Regions from separate parts of the Homo sapiens genome. Here regions 2 and 3 are each linked to region 1. Evidence: promoter capture Hi-C in human tissues and cell types (Jung and others, 2019). All regions are on one chromosome and are shown on one strand. The core of a region is centred on a gene start or on the middle of the fragment in contact, and the rest is flanking DNA. Distances in the headings are between cores, read along the strand shown.

Region 1 (2,843 bases), core at 89-2,588:
GGGTTTCGCCATGTTGGCCAGGCTGGTCTCGAACTCCTGACCTCAAGTGATCCACCTGCCTCGGCCTCCCAAAGTGCTGGGATTACAGGTGTGAGCCACTGATCCCGGATGATGTTAACTTTGATCATCTGTCTGAGACAGTGTTTGTCAGGTATTATCTAATATAAAACCCACCCTCACCCTCTTCCACCACCACTTCCATACTGCACTCTTTTGGAAGGATGTCGCTATGGGCAACTCACACTTAAGGAGTAGGGAGCTAAGCTCCCCATCCTTAAAGTATCTACGTAAATGATTTCAAAATCTGCACAGGAGATTTCTCTCCATTTTCCCCATTTATTTATATTTAGCAATTACTTTTCTTTTTCTTTTTTTTTCTGAGATGGAGTCTCCTTCTGTCGCCCAGGCTGGAGTGCAGTGGCGTGATCTCGGCTCACTGCAACCTCTGCCTCCTGGGTTCCAGCGATTCTCCTGCCTCAGCCTCCCTGGTAGCTGGGACTACAGGCATGCACTACCATGCCAGGCTAATTTTGTATTTTTAGTAGAGACAGGGTTTCACCGTGTTGGCCAGGATAGTCTCGAACTCCTGACCTCAGGTGATCCTCCCGCCTCGGCCTCTCAAAGTGGTGAGATTACAGGTGTGAGCCACTGCGCCTGGCAATTTTATGTTTTTAACCTGCACACGAACAGAGGTAGAGATGAAACGAGGATATAGTGCAAAACGTAAAAGACAAACACTGCACGTGGTTTTCTCTTCACTCGGCCCTCTAGCTCCCCACCCAGAGCTACCACAGGTAGCCAGTTTTTTGCACCCTCTAGGGAGATAGCTTAGGCATTTACAAGCATGTACAAATATATTTTTTGGTTTCCTTTTTGTTCCCAAATGGTAACTTACTAGATGCACTGATTTGGAGTCTTGGGGTTTTTTGCGTGTGGACTTTTTATTTTTTAATTTTAAAGATGGGGGTCTCACTGTGTTGGCCAGGTTGGTCTCAAACTTGTGAGTTCGTGCGGTCCTCCAGCCTCGGACTCCCAAAATGCGAGGATTACAGACGTGAGCCACCACTCCCAACCAGTTATTTTTGTTATTTATTTCTTTATTAGATCAGGTTTGATTTTAGATGCAGGGGGTCCATGTGCATGTTTGTTACATGGGTGTACCGGGTCCTGGTGGAGACTGGGCTCCCAGTGCGCCCAATCTATTGTTATTTTTTAAGCTCAGTGAGACATCAGGGAGGTCGCTGCTTGTCGCCACCGCTGGATGGAGCCTTGCCGGATCTCCCGGGCTCTGCAGCCCCTCTGCGGTCCCTGATGCTCGGCTCCTCGCGGGGGCGCCCCACTCCGGCTTCTGTGATGTCAGCGCCGGAACCTGGAATCCCGGCTCCGCGAGGGAAGGCCGGGGAGGCGGCGGCGGCGGCGGCGGCTGGAGAGGGTCCTCGGCAGCCTCTGAGGAGCGCGGGGCGCGGCCATGAGCGAGTCCAGCGGCAGTGCGCTCCAGCCCGGCAGGCCCAGCCGGCAGCCGGCGGTCCATCCAGGTAGGGCGGCAGGGAGCGCGCGCGGGGACGGTGCCCCTGGGGTCCGAGGGCGCACGGAGGGAGCCGGGTGCTGGAGGCTCGGCCTGGCCGCTGTTCCCTCCCACCCCCGACGCCGGGTGCTCCCGGCTCTGGGGAACAGCAGGTGGGAAGGAGATCTTCCTTATTCCTGCTCCCTCCACAAACGCGTCCTCATCCAATCCAGTGGAACCCAGCCGGGCCAAAAGGACACGAGAACTGCAGTCTGGACCGTGGTGGGTTTGTCTTCCAGCTGTTGACCGAGACAGTCTTTCAATAGCCTCATCTGCTGTTAAATGAAAGGATTTGAGCACCCCCTCCACGCCTAACATTCTGGTATGAGGTGCCTGCCTCCCGGACATTTCAGCCTTCACATACAGTTAGACCAACTTGAAACCGAATTCTGCCTTGTCTGTTTATTGCTGTGGGACCTTTGGTAAGTGGCTTGCCTTCTCTGAGCCTCAGATCCTTCAGCAGTAAAATGGGAATAGAATGGGGCGGGGATTAGCTGAGAATCGTGTGATGTGTCTAGCACAGTGCCTGGCATTGTGGCTAGACAGTCACAATAAATGGTAGCCAGCCAAGTATTATAATCTTTTGTATCGGGTAGAATTACAGTAAAGTATACAGCTCCATGAATTTCTACAGAAATATGTACAACGGCTGCCCAGTCAGGATAAAAAAGTTGCCAGCACTCAGGCAGGGTTCCTTGTAGCATTTGGAGCTTACGAATCTTGTCCTGAACAAAACACAAGACCCTGCTGTAAAGTTTTATCTGCAATGTTTTCTCTTTTTCAGTTTTAGAATAGAGATTTACTGAAACCAAGGATGTAGGGCCGGGCGTGGTGGCTCACGCCTGTAATCCCAGCACTTTGGGAGGCTGAGGCGGGTGGATCACGAGGTCAGGAGTTCAAGACCAGCCTGGCCAAGATGGTGAAACCCCATCTCTACTGAAGATACAAAAATTAGCCAGGAGTGGTGGTGGGTGCTTGTAATCCCAGCTACTTGGGAGGCTGAGGCAGAGAATAGCTTGAACCCGGGAGGCGGAGGTTGCAGTGAGCCGAGATTGCGCCACTGCACTCCAGCCTGGGCGACAGACCAAGACTGTTTCAAAAAAAAAAAAAGAAACCAAGGATATAGAATAAAACATGAGTGTAGATTTGGTCATTGAGGCCTTCAAATTGGATTGTTCCCAATGTCCAGAAGAAAAAAAAAATTTAGAAGAGACCCAAATCAGAAAACAAAAGTTGGGGTGGATTCAATGCGAATTATTTTCTAGCTCAATATTAATAC
Region 2 (2,934 bases), core at 270-2,769, 150 kb before region 1:
TATAAGTAATTATACCTGCTCTAAAAACTAAAAGTAAACTTACGTTAAAGAGCTCAGAATCCCTTTCTCTGGCTGTCCCATCTCTTTTACAAGGAAACGGCACAGCCAGCATTCACTTGCCTGGCAACATCGATGTAATGAGCATGTGTTTCTTCTTCCAGTCCCATAGCTGCGTTTCTTAAGTAGGCCTGAAGAGATTCCACTAGAGTCTGCAGGGGAACGCCATCGGTGGTCTGCTCAATAAGACCGTCCAGTTCATGCAGCATACTTTCTAACGTGTATTCCCCTTTCATTAAACATCGAAGTGCTTCTGGAAATATGATTTGCCGGAAATTCGAATTCAATTCCTATAAATATATGAGAAAAAAACTTTTAATGTTTTTTGAGTTTAGCTAAGTTACACATTTGGAGACTTAGAGCCATACATTAAGAGCAAACTTATGTAACTATGCCATCAACTCATTCATGTAAGTACATCTTTTGTTTACTTTTTATTTCTACTTTTAAATATTTTCTTTTCAAATTCTATTTCATAGTCATGTGAAATTTTTCAGGAACTATTTCAAATGACTTTAAAAAGTTGTCATATAATTAAACATTCCTAGGATGATGTACCTTAAGAACAAAAAGAACTGCCCTAAAGTATGTTATATAATGTTATTAATTTTTAGGAATCATATTTCTGTAGTGATATTAGCATTGTTATTCTCTTTTTGGTTTGGTTATAAGTGGCTTCTATTTCCCTTCAAAAAAAAAAAGTCTTATCAAGGTATAATTTGCATATAATAAACTGCATGTTTAAAATATATAATTTGTTATACTTTGGTACTTGCATACACTCATGAAACTGTCACCACAATCAAGAAAATCAGCATACCGACTACCCTACAAATTTCCTCCTGACTTCTTAATCTCTCTCACTCACACTTCTCCATACCACCTCCTCCATCTCCAAGTAAACACTGATCTGCTTTTTCTCATATTATACACTCTCCATTTATAGGGGTAGAAATGTCTAGCTTTCTTTACTCAGCATAATTATTGTAAGTCATACATGTGGCTGTATGTTATCAAGGTGTCGTTCACTTTTATTGCTAAGAAGTATTCCATTATGTGGATGTACCATATTTGTCCATTTGCTTGATGAACACTTGACTTGATTCCAGTTTTTGACTATTACAAATAAAGCTGCTATAAAAATTCAAAAAAACAAAGAGCAACTGTAACCAAGTTATAGCTATAAATCTCACAATTATCTTCCTTTTAAATGACTGGTTGAGCAACATTCAAATGGGGAAGTCAAATTGCTTTCCTGGGTTAAAGAGATGAGAAAGACAATATTCAGTATCTAAAACAAACTAATATTTAAAATAAAAGTGTTCACCTGAAGTGAGGTATACACTCCATTGGCTAAGTGAACTGTCTCAGACGCTTCCATGGGGTTCGGGATATCTAAGTCCTGTGGCACCAGGTGGCACTGCTTCAGTAACTGAACCAAGCAGGTGACGTTTCCGCTCATACTGCAGAGTTCCTCCAAGAACCAGGCTCCATCCCGAGAAGTCAGATCAACCAGCTGTTCTCCAGCACTTGACGCTGCACCTTCCATCATCAGGTTACGCCTACAAGAGATAAATATCTGTACAGTGAAACTTAAATGTATAAACAAAACAAGGTAACTGGCCGGGTCAAGGCCATGCCTGTAATTCCAGCATTTTGGGAGGCCGAGGCAGGTAGATGACTTCAGGCCAGGAGTTCGAGACCAGCCTGATCAATATGGCAAAACCCCATCTCTACCAAAAAATACAAAAATTAGCCAGGTGTGGTGGCACACACCTGTAGTCCCAGCTATTAAGGAGGCTGAGGTTGCTGTGAGCCGAGATCGTGCCACTGCACTCCAGCCTCAGTGTCAAGAGTGAGACCCTGTCTCAAAACACAACCAAGATAACTAAAATCTGAAAAGCAAGTAAGCAGCTGTAACACTTGGCAAGACTAAGGAAAGTAAAAGAACATTTTAGGTTTGGGATTAAAAATAAGACACAGGAAATGGTCCAATATGAAGTTGGCTAACTTACCTTGTAAGGGTACAAAGGGCAGAAATAATAACACTTGCTAGACTCAAAGATCCTTCTTCTCCATTCTCATGAAGGAAAACTTTAATGCAACGTTCAATTTCTTTCAACTGATCTTCACAAACTGGCACAGTGACAGCTTCCTGTTTCAAGCGTTCCACTTGTCTAATAAGTCTGCTGTTGATGTCTGCTGCGTATCGCTGCAGGGTCATTTCAGTGGCAGTGATGAACTGACACACTGTTGGGGGTGGCTGGGGAGCATATTGCATTTCATATCTATAAAAATAAGGAAGAGGTGCTTGTTTATAACACAACCACCCCCAACATACAAAAGAATATTGCATTTAATCCTCAAACAAAACTTGAAGAGTAGAAATCATTATTTACATTTTACAGATAAAAATGTCTCAAGAGCTTAAGCAATTTCCTAAAAGGACTTGTTGATGACTGTGACAGAATCAACATTTGAGGCCAGGCACCACGGCTCATACCTGTAATCCTAGCACTTTGGGAGGCCAAGGCAGGAGGATCGCTTGAGCTCAGGAGTTCGAGACCAGCCTGGGCAACACGGCGAAACTCCATCTCTACAAAAAAATATAAAAATTGTTCAGGCGTGGTGACACACGCCCGTGGTCCCAGCTACTTGGGAGGCTGAAGTGGGAGGATCACCTGAGCCCAGGGAGGTCAAGGCTGCAGAATACAACTTTGCTTCCACTCCCAATAAGAAATACAATTGGCCAGGCGCAGTGGCTCACGCCTGTAATCCCAGAAATTTGGGAGGCCCAGGCAGGCAGATCACGTGGTCAGGAGTTCAAGACCAGCCTGGCCAATATAGTGAAACCCCGTCTGTACTAAAAAGACAAAA
Region 3 (3,075 bases), core at 30-2,529, 160 kb after region 1:
AAGGAACCTCTGAATTTTTCTAGAACAACCAGCTCACTTTGTGGATGAGGAAATGAAGGACCAGATAAACATGTTTAATTTTGCACGATTTAATATCTGGCTGAGTGGGTTGGGCACTGCACAACTCTAGAAGGTGCTATGAATACGGGCTGCTATATGAATGGCACCTCCTGGGATTGTACAACTTAATGGTCCTATATGCTTCCATTGTGAAGAAAGAATGTTCTCAAATTGCTATGATTAAAAAATGATTTTTTGTTGCTTTGAATGAAAAAATGTATACTAATTTCAAGTATCATTTGATTAGATGATTTCGAGAACATTAGCATAGCTTTGCAAAGTAAGATTCTCAAACTCGAAGAGTTCCATATTTTTTGTGCTCTTTCTGAAAGTCAATATTCCATTGTAGCTAAGAGCTCAGACTCTGGAATCAGGCAGAAATGTGATTTGACCATTAATTAGCTGTGACCTTGGGCAAATCACTTTAGCTCTCTAATATCAGGCTCTTTCTTTATAATATGAACATAATATTATCTTATCACTGGGTTGGAAAATGTGACCTACAAGTGACCCATTCCCCCTACTTTTTTGTCTACTCTGAATTTGTTCCAATTAGGAGTGGGCTTGCTCTAGACTATGGATGATGGTTGGTCGATAAGCCAATCAATTGCTCAATTCCATTCCCTGCTTTCCCAGACTCCTTTGCACCTAGGGATGGTCCTGTGATCCTGTTTCGGCCAGTGGGAGTGTTGCTGTCATTTCCAGGAGATTCCATTACACTTAAGCTTGTTTCATTCTTTTACAGAGTTGTGTAGGTCCTGAAGGCTGAATACAATAGGGAAGAGCTACCAACTGGGTCCAATTGAGTCCAATCTGCCAAGCTCTGAATCAGAAATCAGAAACCCAGGTTCTCCCTCTACCTGTGCCAATGGTCCTGTTGTGTGACCCTGGGCTAGCCTCTTTCCCACTGGGATCTCAGTTTTCTCATCTGTAAAGTGTAGGAGTTCGATGGTGCCTGAGAGGTTATTTCTTTATTCATTTATTTAGGCAGAGAGGACTCTTCAGATTGCCTAGCTGGCCACTCTCTGCCTGTTATCTTTTTAGCTTCTCTGCAAGGAGAAGGTGCTAATTGGCTCCATCAGAGTCCTAGACACTCCTTGGGCCATGCATCCCTAGTGTCACTGTGTGGCAAAGGCTGCAGCTCTGCTCTTCTTCCCCTGTTACAGGCTGGGCAGTGCTCTGATCTAACGGCCTGCCTGAGCTCTTGCACATTGCCTTACATGTGAGCCATTGGGTTGGGTTGTGTATTAAGTTTGGTAAGACTCCAAGATTTATATTCATTAATTGGGAGGTGGAGTGGGACTAGAAAAAGGGTTTTAGATTACAGCCTAAACCAAGGGCTCTAATCTAACTCTTTTTTTTTTTTTTTTAAGAGATAGGGTCTCGCTTTGTCGCCCAGGCTGGAATGCAGTGGTGTGAGCCTAGCTCATTGCAGCCTCGAACTCCTGAGCTCAAGTGATATTCTAACTTTTTAAAGGAAGCTCTACATTGGTGACTATTAGGTCCAGATTCAACTATTAATAAAAAGGTGTTTTGATTCCAATGTAGCTGCTGCTTCTTGCATATAGCTCCCTAAGGAACTTTGGGAGTGGGGTGGAGTGAACAGGAGGGTGTTAGGAGATGGACAACAAGATTCAGGAATTGCTGGATCCCTGGTCTCAATGACATCAAAAAGATGAGCAAAATCACAACCCAAGCTAATCCCTACTTAACTTTAAACAAATATTTCTGAAACACCCAATTTCTGGCACGTCACAGCCAGCTCTGATGTTCTAAGATACAAAATTCTACTACCTTGGTTGGGACCAACATTGAACTCCAAATTCCCATCCTCCTGGTGATTTGTGGTTTCCTTTCCTGAGACCTGAATACCAGTGGTGGCTCCATGGGGACGGCACTGGGAGGTTTAACATTCCCCATCCCCCAATTTCTATCAGTCTGCCAATGTTTAATATAGACACCTGGCATTTTCTTATTCTGATGGTGTAGTAAAGGTCCTCACTTTCAAGTCTTCCTCCCTACTAGAGTCTCAACTCTAAGCCCCTTCTTGGGTCTCCTCCTCAGAGCTACCCTTCCTGAGTAGCCCCCAAAGATTTATACTTTCTAAAACAGCAGAATGGGTTCTATTCAGACAATACTTTGGTGAAAAGTAAACATCAGACTGGCACAGCTGAATCCTGGCCCTGGCTTCTAACAGCTTTGGGGGGTTAGCTCTACAAAGGCTACAGTTTATCTAAGGCACTAGGAACCCCAGGGCATTGTCAGGCCTTGCACTTTTAAAGTGGAACAGACTATTGTTGAAGACACAGGCAGGTGTTTTTAAATTGGTTGTGCACAATGTACTCTTTTTCTTTTTCCCAGGCGGGATTTAAAGAAAAAGAGAATGGCCGGGCACGGTGGCTCATGCCTATAACCCCAGCACTTTGGGAGGCTGAGGCAGGCGGATCACCTGAGGTCAGGAGTTTGAGACCAGCCTGGCCAACAGGGTAAAACCGTGTCTCTATCAAAAATACAAAAATGAGCCGGGCGTGGTAGCGTGTGCCTCTAATCCCAGCTACCTGGGAGACTGAGGCAGGAGAATCGCTGGAACCTGGGAGGCGGAGGCTGCAGTGAGCCGAGATTGCACCACTGCACTCCAGCCTGGATGACAGAGCGAGACTCCGTCTCAAAAAAATAAAATAAAATAAAATAAAATAAAAATAAAGAGAAAAGGAAGTGGGCTAGTTTACAGAAACCCCAGTGGGTGAATGGGTGGGACAAGAAGAACTCGATTCATTATCTGGTCCAGGTAGTTATTATGCCAACCTCTATAGTAGATGTTCAGAAAACAGTGGTGAAGAAAAGGACAGTCCTTGCCCTTGCAGGGTAGTGGCCTATGGGTGAAACAGACGAGTAACTAAATTACAGGCTAGCCTCGGCCAATGCCTCTCATAACATAATGTTCTTGTGAACCACCTGGGATAGTTCTAAGATGCAGATTCTGATTCAGTAGATTTGGGTTAGGGCCTGAGATTC

Evidence for each region. Contacts are between HindIII fragments. The study calls those that stand out against the background at their distance.
Region 2: a fragment that was not itself captured here is called in contact with the fragment with the promoter of TMC7 in region 1 in 1 of the 25 tissues and cell types used here (lymphoblastoid cells).
Region 3: a contact is called between a fragment that was not itself captured here and the fragment with the promoter of TMC7 in region 1, in 2 of the 25 tissues and cell types used here (neural progenitor cells and ovary).

What each region holds. Positions count from the first base shown.
Region 1 is chr16:18,982,596-18,985,438 of GRCh38, forward strand. TMC7 (transmembrane channel like 7) reads left to right here and starts at 1,339. Exons shown (of 16, transcript NM_024847.4): 1 at 1,339-1,535. The coding sequence starts at 1,469. RefSeq lists a silencer at 1,250-1,309. The HindIII fragment of the contact is 36,131 bases long and covers 1-2,843 here.
Region 2 is chr16:18,832,820-18,835,753 of GRCh38, forward strand. It overlaps SMG1 (SMG1 nonsense mediated mRNA decay associated PI3K related kinase), which reads right to left. Exons shown (of 63, transcript NM_015092.5): 49 at 2,073-2,345; 50 at 1,385-1,619; 51 at 121-347. Among named protein-coding and RNA genes, the nearest start is that of ARL6IP1, 33 kb to the left of the region's middle. The HindIII fragment of the contact is 5,083 bases long and covers 1-2,934 here.
Region 3 is chr16:19,143,954-19,147,028 of GRCh38, forward strand. No RefSeq gene overlaps it. Among named protein-coding and RNA genes, the nearest start is that of SYT17, 23 kb to the right of the region's middle. The HindIII fragment of the contact is 5,413 bases long and covers 1-3,075 here.